2 separate regions of the Homo sapiens genome follow, and region 1 is linked to region 2. The links are contacts of gene promoters, found by promoter capture Hi-C in blood cells and fetal thymus (Javierre and others, 2016). All regions are on one chromosome and are shown on one strand. Each heading gives the region's core, a stretch centred on a gene start or on the middle of the fragment in contact. The rest is flanking DNA. Distances are from core to core; before and after follow the strand shown.

Region 1 (4,690 bases), core at 1,132-3,631, 550 kb after region 2:
GCTTTGGGGGGACCAATCTCAGACAAGCAGATGAAATTAGGAGCTTGGCTTGGGACCGGTAAGGTTTGTGGTGGACTATTGAGCAGGAAGTTAGACACTCAGATCTGGAGCCCAGGGAAGGGCTGTAGGCTAGAGACATAAATTTGAGAGCCCACAGCAGAGAAGTGGTATTTCCAGCCCAGTGATTGGATGAGGCCACAAGGGAATGGATACAGACAGAGAAGAGGACCAAGAACTAAGCCATCACTGAGAAGTTGGGAGCATAGGGACAGCCAGCCAAGTGGACTGAGCGGGAGCACTGGGGAGGAGGGAAGAGAGCCAGGAGAGTTGGGTGAGAAGCCAGAGGAGGATGCGGGACAAGGCGGAGGGGGCATCGGCTCTGCCCAGGCTGCTGGGGGCCAGGTCAGACGAGGATCCAGGGCTGACGGCTGGGTGCGACAACATGGAGATCACCGGGAACCGAGCCCCCAGCAAGTTTGGTGGAGAGGTATGGGGCAGAGAGAACCAGAGGGGAGAAAAGGGAGGCCCAAAGGCAGGCAGTCAGCCAGGTGGGTTACCATAGGGGGCGGCAGCTACAGGGAACGAGAGGGTGAAGGGAAAGGTTTTGTTCCAAGCTTTGAATTCTTACATATTATATAAAAATGGGGATGATGCAGAAGAGGAGGAAAAGTGCTGATTTGGAGGTGGGGGTGCTCCTAGGACAGGGTTGCTGAGCAGAGGGGGCAGGTTGGCCTGGGCTACCCTCCCGGAACAGCTGGAAGGTGTGCGTGGGCCTGGGGCAGGAGGTGGGCAGCTGCTCAGTGGAGCCCAGGAAGGAAACTCTCACCGGCTGCTCCCTTTGCTCAGGGAAGTAGGAGGCAAGAATAAAAGCTGAGAGTGCGGATGGAGGGGGAGGTGATGGGGACTGAAGCAGGAAGGGAGAGTAGGCGAATAAACGCCCTGGGGAAGGAAGTACGGGGTGGCCGCCTGCCCGCAGTGGAGGCCCACGCCAGGTGAGTGGCCTTGAACTTGCAGGAAGATGGGCTGTGATCATCACACATGCCTGGATGTATTTCCAGAGTAATCTAGTGTCCTCATTGTCGCTTCCCAAAGCTCACATTCTGGGGGAATGTTCTCAGTTTTGAGTCACTTAAGTGAGGACAGAGTCTGAGCCCAGAGCTTCCACCCTAACCCCTGGGGTTCCCTGCCACATGGGAAGGAAGGTGAGTGCCATCTCAGGAAGACAGAGGGCACAGAGAGGGGTGGGGTCCTCATGGCCCACCAAGAAAGGGGAAAAAAAACCCATTCCTTCTGGCACCTGCAGGGGGCGCTGGGGAGGCGACAACAGAACAGGAAGACCCAGGTGTTAAAAACAAGCAGGTAAGGCTAACACCATGGCCAGACATGGGGACTTGTTGCTCAGCGCCCCGGCAGGCAGAAGCCCACTTGGCATGTCCCTGGTGATAGACTGGACACAGCAGAGCAGCCCTGGGAGAGAGGAGAGGCAATCCCCCACCGCCCACCACCCCACACCTCTCCAGCACATCCAGTTTCCTGCAACATCATGATTGGCTGAGTGGGGACCCAAGCTCTCCTGTGGGCAGAGAAAACCTTGGCCAGTGAACGAGGAGAGGCCATCTGGAGAGCCCACAGTGAAGTCACCCAGAGGGATGAAGGGAATGCTCCAGTAGTGGAGGAGCGGGCTACCCACTAGGGGTAGGCGTGAGGGTGAGGGACCATGATTGTGGCTCATGCCAGAGGGGCAGGGTGGCGAGTGCTCAGCTGGGCACCCAAAGCTCATCAGATGCACCACCCGCCAGAGCCAGCTGTGGGGCTCCCCCATGGCTGGCCACCCTGCTCCTTGCTGAACAGCCCCACCCCAGCAACTGGGCAAATCGGAGTGGAACCAGAACTGTCCAGGAGGAGTCAATTTATCCCCAAATAAATAAAAATTGGGAGAGAAAGACCTTTCATTGTCAAGTTTACATCCACTCCCACATTACCAGGAGAGTAGGGGCTGATGAGGGAAGTTAGAACAGTGACAGAGAAATAAAGAAGCTACAGGTGTTTGTGTGGGATCTGAGTGTGGGGGTCTGAGTTTTCAGCTGTTACACGGATCGGTGCAGTAGGATGTGGTAAGAAAAGCACAGAGGAGGGGCACTGAGGGAGGGCCTCCTGTAGAATGAGGAAGATGAAGAGTTGCCTCTTGCAGCGAGAGGGTTCCTTGCCTGCCAGCTGGCAAAGCCCTGGGGTACCCGGGGGCAAATGCTACTACTGGAGACTCAACACACAGATCTCTCGTCAACCACAGTATCGCCAATCATAGTTTAAAGATCCAGGCTTTTAATGTCAAGGCATCGGGTTTCTGCTAGAAGAGTTTCCAGAACTTTCATTTAGTGCAGTTTTATATTTGACCACTAACCAATTTTTAATCCAAAATCTTTTTATATATGCATTGTTCAGTTCACCTCCTTAGAATAAATAGCCCAATCATGATTATATTCATCTTCCTCCCACTGCTCCCTCCGCACCCCACACACTCAGGTCACATGTAGACTCTGTGGTATAAGATTTGGGAAGAATTTAGCCATAAGAAGGAAAGCAATAAGGATACATGCTACTACATGAATGAACTTTTGAAACATTATACTAAGTGAAAGAAGCCAGACACAAAAGGCCACATATTGTATGATTCCATTTATATGAAATGTCCAGAACAGGCAAATCCACAGAGACAGAAAGCAGATTCATGGTTGCCAGGGCTGTGAGGGGTGGGAGAAAATGAGGAGTGATGGCTAATGGGTACGGGGTTTCTTTCTGGGGTGACAAAACAGTTCTGAAATCGGTGGCGATGGCTGCACAGTGCTGTGAATGTACCAAAAACCACTGAATCATACACTAAAGAATACATTTTGTGGAATGCAAGTTACATTTCAATTTTTTTTAAGATGATTTAAATTCTGCTTTCTCAAGACACAGAGACCAGAACAGGTCATTTGAGTTTATGAGAAGACCAAGTAACGATGAAACTTATCAGAACAAGCACCAAACTCATTCAATTCTAAGTGCTGATGGCTTCTCTGAAAACTTGAGAGGGTGATAGTGTCCACCACGGAACTCACGGGAGATTTCCACCATTCAACCTTGAATTGCTATTCATAGAGTGTCTACTATGCATGTACAATGTGCTGCTACATGTCGGAGATGCAGCAGTGACTGAGACAGACAGGGGGCCCATGGAAAAGAGACACTTAGGAAAAACTTGCACAAATAATTGCCCAATTAACATTATGCTGTAAAGGAAAATTACAGTGATTTCAGGGTTTATAAAATGAACATAATATTTTTGGGGGAGCAGGAGGAACCTCCCTGAGGAGTTAGCATTGAAGCCAAACCTGGAAGGCTGGGGGAAGAAGCATCCAGGTAAAGTAGAAGGCAGAGGAGCTAAGCAAGGAGAGAGAGAGAGAGCACCAGAAGGGCAGAGAGCCAGCAGGGAGAACAGGTGCCTCCCTATGTCACCAGCCACAGAGATCTTTCCTGAACCCATCAAGCAGAGATTCAGGCTTCTAACGCCAGTACATCTGGCTTGTGCTGGAGATGGGTGCCTTCCAGAATATTCATGTCCTGAGATTTTAAAAAGTGTGTCTAATACAATTGTTTATTCATTCATTCAACAAATATTTATTGAGATCTGCAACACGCCAGGCACTGGGGATACACAAGCGAACACAGAGTGTCCCTGTCCTCCCGGGGCTCACATTCTAGAGGGGGAGACAGTCAACAGGTGAACAGACAGTCAACAGGTGGAAAGAAGGTAACCTCAGAGGTGATGGCCCCTGAGAAGTCTGGGGCTGGGTGGTCTTTACACAAGGTGCTGGGCAAGGCCTGTTTGAGACAAGCAGAGGAAGAAGCCCGCCAGGCCCAGGCTTGAGAAAAGGACCCGGGGGGAGGGAAGCTGCGGGGGGGGCGGGGGGAGGGGGAGGCTGGGAGAAGAAAGGCTGGGGGCAGTAGTGAGAAAGCAAGAGGAAAGAGCAAGCTGCAGAGTGGGTTCTGAGTGCTCGGCAGGGGCCTCGCGGGCCATGCAGCCGACTTAATTTAGAACTGCATTTAGTTGTCAAGTGATGGGAAGCCCTTGGAGCAGGGAAATGACACATTTAATTTAAGCTTCACAAAGCTAAGCTGGGGGTGGGGGGGGGTTGGCAAGTTGAGGGGGGTGTAAGTTGCGTGGGGGTGGGGACCAAGAATGCAATTGTAAGTACTAAGGAGAAGACAAATGGGGTGTCCCAGAACAGAAATACAAGCAAAAGGAAACATGACTGAAGTACAGCGTGCTCCAATCCAGGCTGACCCTGTCCAAGTCCCAAAGTTAACAGCGCCCACTTTGGAGGCAGGCTGACCTGGGCTTAAATCTAGGCTTACCAACCGTGTGACCTTGGGCAGGTGACTTCGCCTCTGAGCGCCTCAGTCTCCTCGTCTGAACGATGGGTTAACAATAGCGCCTACCTGAAAGGGCTGTGGCTGCCATCACGTTTGTGGGGCCCAGCTGTGCGCGGTGGGCGCCCAGCAGCTGCTGCGGCTGTGAGTAATTTGTTACTAAGAATAGTTAGCGCCCCTCTCGGGGCCGCCGACTCCCAGCGGCCGCGCGCACTAGGCGAGGCCGGACCCCCGGCCTGGACGCCGGCTTAGACGCTGTCCCCAGGCCCCCAGTCCC
Region 2 (4,624 bases), core at 2,007-4,506:
AAAAAAAAAAAAAAAAAAAAACAAAAAACAAAACAAAACAGCCACTTGCACACTTGTAAATGCTCACTTAATTGTAAATTGACTTCCATCAGTCAAGCCCCTCAGACTTTCTCCCCTAACTGGCTGACTCCATACATACCACTTCAGCAAGCAAAGCCGTACACTACCAGCTTCTCTGGATGTGGAAAAGTGGACCAGCAATTTGTTAAGATAAAATGCAGATCATGTAAAAATATGTCGGTTTTCTAAATTCCTCTAATTCCACACACTATGAGAAAAAGTAAATTTACTTTTGTGGTTAATGTATCTTTACCTAAATATCTTATTTCAAATCGTATTCTGAATTCTGCAAATTCATCAATAACTAAAACCCCCATCCCTTACTCATTGGTATTAACAAAAAAAAATGCCCCCCCCCCCCTTTTGAGACAGAGTCTCGCTCTGTCACCCAGGCTGGAGTGTAGTGGTGCAATCTCGGCTCACTGTTAACCTCTGCCTCCTGGGTTCAAGCGATTCTCCTGCCTCAGCCTCCCGAGTAGCTGGGATTACGGGCTCCCGCCATCACGCCTGGCTAATTTTTATATTTTTAGTAGAGATGGGGTTTCACTATGATGGCCAGCTGGTCTCGAACTCCAGACTTCAAGTGATCCACCGGCCTCAGCCTCCCAAACTGCTGGGATTACAGGCGTGAGCCACCGCGCCCGGCCAAAACCATGACTTTTAGTTCCAACATGATCAGTATGTAATCTCTTGAGCTACCAAAATACATGGAAATTATCTTTTGATAACCATTAAGTACTAAAGTATTCATGTTTCATTTAAACATAGTTTCTGCTAAACTCAAACTGCTATGAATTCTACAAGGCACCCTGGATGCAGGACAGCGCCTGTTAGCACCTTCCTATTAGATTTTGACAGCTCCTAGATCCCTTTGCTCAGGCCTCTTTCAATCACAGATCCACCCAGCTGTAGTTGTCTCATCTTGAGGCTTTCACCAGATACAAACTAGCTTTTTCAGTCCAGCCTTTTCATTTCTGTTTCATTCATTCCTCCGAATTTTAACGATCTTTTAATACTCAAAGGTCACCATATTTTGAGTCTCCATTCAGTTCTGAGAATTTATGAAGCTTTAAAGTACTTATAGGGAAGAGGTTCCACCGCTTATATGGAGTACTAAACGTAATCATCACAGGCATTAGATTAACTACGATGGCAGGATTATTCTCAGTCTATTTAGTATCTCAGCAATTTAGCTAGGTAGCATATGAATATACTAATAGGATACTGACCTAAAAAACCAGCATTGAATTAATAATTGCCTTTGAAGTAAAAACAGATTTTACACAGGCAGATAAGATCCTTTTGCTCTAGATGGTTTTCAGGCCTTCGTTAAAAGTAGTATTAAAACAGTAAAACAAAACTCAAAAAAACCCGCTTTCTATTATCGTTCTTTTCATGGGGAAAATAGATACCTTTCTACAAAGTAAAAACCATAAAGGCTTAAAATTAAACTACCCGATTTTATTTACTGGCAAATGTCCACAGTTGAGTAAACTAACCCAACCTATTCAGAAGAGCTAAATACTTGAGGGAAAAAAAAAAAGCTTTCCCAAAACGTAAGTGACTAAGAATTATTCGCTAACATTCACAGGCCCTTTCCACTAGGTACCGCAGGAAGGCGAAAAGGCCAGGAATTCGCTGGCAACGGCGGTGACAGGCTCCGACTGACGCTCGGAGCCCGCACACGCGAGCCCTACGTGCAGCCCCAAGTCCCGCCCCGCAGCAAACGACGACTTGGGCGAGCGTGACCGCCGGGGCAGGGTCCAGCCCGGCGCTGGGTGGGCGGGGAGCAAGGAGGCCGGAGGGCGCCCACGAGTGCCAAGCCCCCTCCTTCTGGAAGGTGCCACCGGGGAGCAGTTGGGAGTCCGGGGAAGTTGGGGGCGGGCGGGGCAAGCGCCCGCGGCGCCCTCCAGCGGCCGATGGGGTAACGGCAGCGCCGGGCGGGGGCGGGGGCGCGCGTCCCGGAGGCAGCAATCCCTGGCCCGCGAGGCCGCGGCGCAGCCCCGCCAACGACCTCCCGCGTCCCGCCCGGGCCGGGGGCGCGCAGCTGCCGCCACAACGGGCCGGCGGGCGCGCCCGTTGATGCGGGCGCGGGGAGCGAGGGCGTCGGGGAGCGAGCGCGCCGGCCCCTCCCCCGGCCGTCTCCGCCCCGCGCGGCGCTTCCCCCTCTCGGAGAAACTACGCCATTGCGGCCTAGCCGGGCGGCGCCGGCCCCTCCCCCCCGCGGCCTGCCGCCATCTTCGCGGCCCGCCGCCCGCCGCCGCCGCCGCGCCCCCGCCGCCGCACGGCCCGCCATCTTTTGGGGCCGCCATACTTGCCCTGGCGAAGAAGATGGCGGCGCCCATCACACACATAAAACATGGCTTCCCTTCAAAACAAAAACATCCCGGGGCCGGGGCGCGCGGCCGGCGCTCACCTGAGGACCACATGGTGACCGAGAACTCGCCCTCCAGGGTCTTGATCTGCACCTGCTTCTGCTCCCACTTCTTGTTGCCCGGGTCGGCGCCGCCGCCGCCCGCCGCGCCGGCCCCGCCGCTGAGGTAACTCTTCTTGCCGCTCTTCTTGCCGCCGCCCTTCTTGACGCGGCCGCCTCCCGACGACGACGAGCCGCCGCCGCCGCTCTTGCCGGCCGCCGCCACGGTGACCAGCGTTTGTTCAATGTAGTCGTCGTCGCCGCCGGCCGGCGCGGGCACCGGGATGAGAATCTGATCCTCGAAGCCGTCCTCGGCGCGCAGCCCGTCCGAGTCGTCGCCGCCCACCACCTCCTCGCGCGTCTGCACCAGGATCACCTCCTGGTGGTGGTGCACCTGGGTCGGGTCGTCGGTGACCAGCGGCTGCAGAGCGATCATGGGCGGGTGGTGGTGGTGGTGATGGTGGTGGTGGTGGTGGCCGGCGTGCCCGTGGCCGCCCCCGCCGCCGTGGTCGCCACCGCCGCCGTCCTCGTCGTCGTCGTCCTCCTCCTCCTCCTCGCCCACCACTGTGGTCTCGATGGTCTCCACCGGGATGGTCTCCACCTCGATCTCGTGCAGCTCCACGATCTCGGCCGGCATCTCCGAGCCGTCCGTGGCGATGTAGAGGGTGTCGCCCGAGGCCATGGCTGAGGGCTCCGCCGCCACGGCCGCGGCGGCCTCGGCTCCTCGGCTGCGGGCGGGCGGGCGAGGAGGCGGCCGGCCGTGGGGAAGGAAGGCAGAGGGAGGAAGGCGGCGAGCGGGCGGGGGGAGAGGGGGCGGGCGGCGGGGGAAGGGGCGGGCGCCGCGGCGGCGGCGGGGCTTCCCCGCCTCCCTCGCCTCGGTGCGCCCGCGCCCGCGCTCGCTCGGCCGCTGCTCGTCTCGGCTCCCCGCCTCGCCTCGCCTCGCCGCAACCGCCCGCCCTGGCCGCGCCTCCTCCCGCCCTCCGGGCCGGCGCTCCGCTTCCCCCTTCCTCCTGCGCCTCCGCCTCCTTCCACACAAATACCAACTCCTCAACCCGAGCCCAGATCTCGCCGCCGCCGCCACACTCTGCTCGGGCCCGGCCTCGCGAGACTTCCGCGCTGGCCTCAGCCCGCCCCGCCTCGCTGCCACTCGCCCGTTCGCCCTCTCGATTCTCCTCTCGGCCAATCGATCTGTCCGCTGGCCTCCGCGGCCCCGCCCACTCGCCGGGCTCCTCCCGGATTGGGGCCGATGGGACCGGGGGCGGGGCGGCTCGCACGCGCCCTGGCTGGCCCGCGGCGCGTGACGTCAGCGCGCCGCCGCCGCCGCCACCGCCTCCCGCTTCCCGGTGTCGCGCGGCTGCCGCCCTTCGCGGTGCAACAGCCACAAAACCCGCCGCCTCGGGCCGGGGCCGCACTCGGGAACGGGGCGTCGCCGCTACAGCCGCTGCCTTGGGAGCCGGTGAGCGGTCCGCGCGGCCCCGGGCACCACGGGGGCGGGAGCCTGAGGAGAAGGGAGGGAGGGGCCGGCCGGGAGCGGGGTTGAGGCGGGTGGGCGGCCCGGGGGCCGCGCGGGGAGCGGCTGGCGCGTGCGGGGCGGCCCTGTCGCCCCAATAAAGTCTGCTTTGACGAGAATCGCCTGTGCTTCCTTTTTCGCGTCGGGAGGTGTTTGTTCTTGTCGCCTGGCTTCGGGCGAGCGATGGCCGCGGGGTGAGTGTGGAGGACCGAACGGACAAAATCGGGCGACGCGGGCAGCGTCCGGTATCTCGCCGCGAGCGCCCGGCGGGGTGCGGGGCCGAGCGCGGGGTCGGCGCGAGCTCGGCGGAAGCGCCCGCGGAGCCCCAGGGCCACCGTTGGGAGGATGTCCGTTATTCTTTAGTGACCCGCGGAAACCTGAGACGCAGCCGTTGGGTGCCTGTTTCCCCGTAGATCTTAGAACTACAGGGTCCTGGCGGCTTTCTAAAATTTTCTCCTGAGCTTCCCCTTCTTTGCTCTCCAGTCAGCCATTGTTTCCCTTGCCCACCCTTTCCCCCTATTTGTCACTTTCATAGGTGCTCCTTTTTACGCCCACCAGGTTTTGCATTTGTCTCATTTAAAATTCCAAATTTTTTCAGCCGTGTCCTCCATTGTACCTGCAACAGAGCCTAGATTTTTTTT

Evidence for each region. The method cuts DNA at HindIII sites, captures the fragments that hold promoters and counts their contacts. A CHiCAGO score of 5 or more calls a contact.
Region 1: a fragment that was not itself captured here is called in contact with the fragment with the promoter of YY1 in region 2 in 1 of 17 cell types (erythroblasts); the score reaches 5.0 in erythroblasts.

Annotation. Positions count from the first base shown.
Region 1 is chr14:99,684,574-99,689,263 of GRCh38, reverse strand. The region is part of intron 1 of CYP46A1 (cytochrome P450 family 46 subfamily A member 1); the gene reads right to left. Among named protein-coding and RNA genes, the nearest start is that of CYP46A1, 2.6 kb to the right of the region's middle. RefSeq lists a silencer at 4,582-4,690. The HindIII fragment of the contact is 3,529 bases long and covers 617-4,145 here.
Region 2 is chr14:100,237,776-100,242,399 of GRCh38, reverse strand. YY1 (YY1 transcription factor) reads right to left here and starts at 3,256. Exons shown (of 5, transcript NM_003403.5): 1 at 2,477-3,256. The coding sequence starts at 3,155. It overlaps YY1-DT (YY1 divergent transcript), which reads left to right and starts at 3,779. Exons shown (of 2, transcript NR_189150.1): 1 at 3,779-3,929. RefSeq lists silencers at 1,655-2,334, 2,605-2,654, 3,145-3,214, 3,365-3,444, 3,505-4,104 and enhancers at 2,345-2,504, 3,342-4,194. The HindIII fragment of the contact is 3,842 bases long and covers 1,607-4,624 here.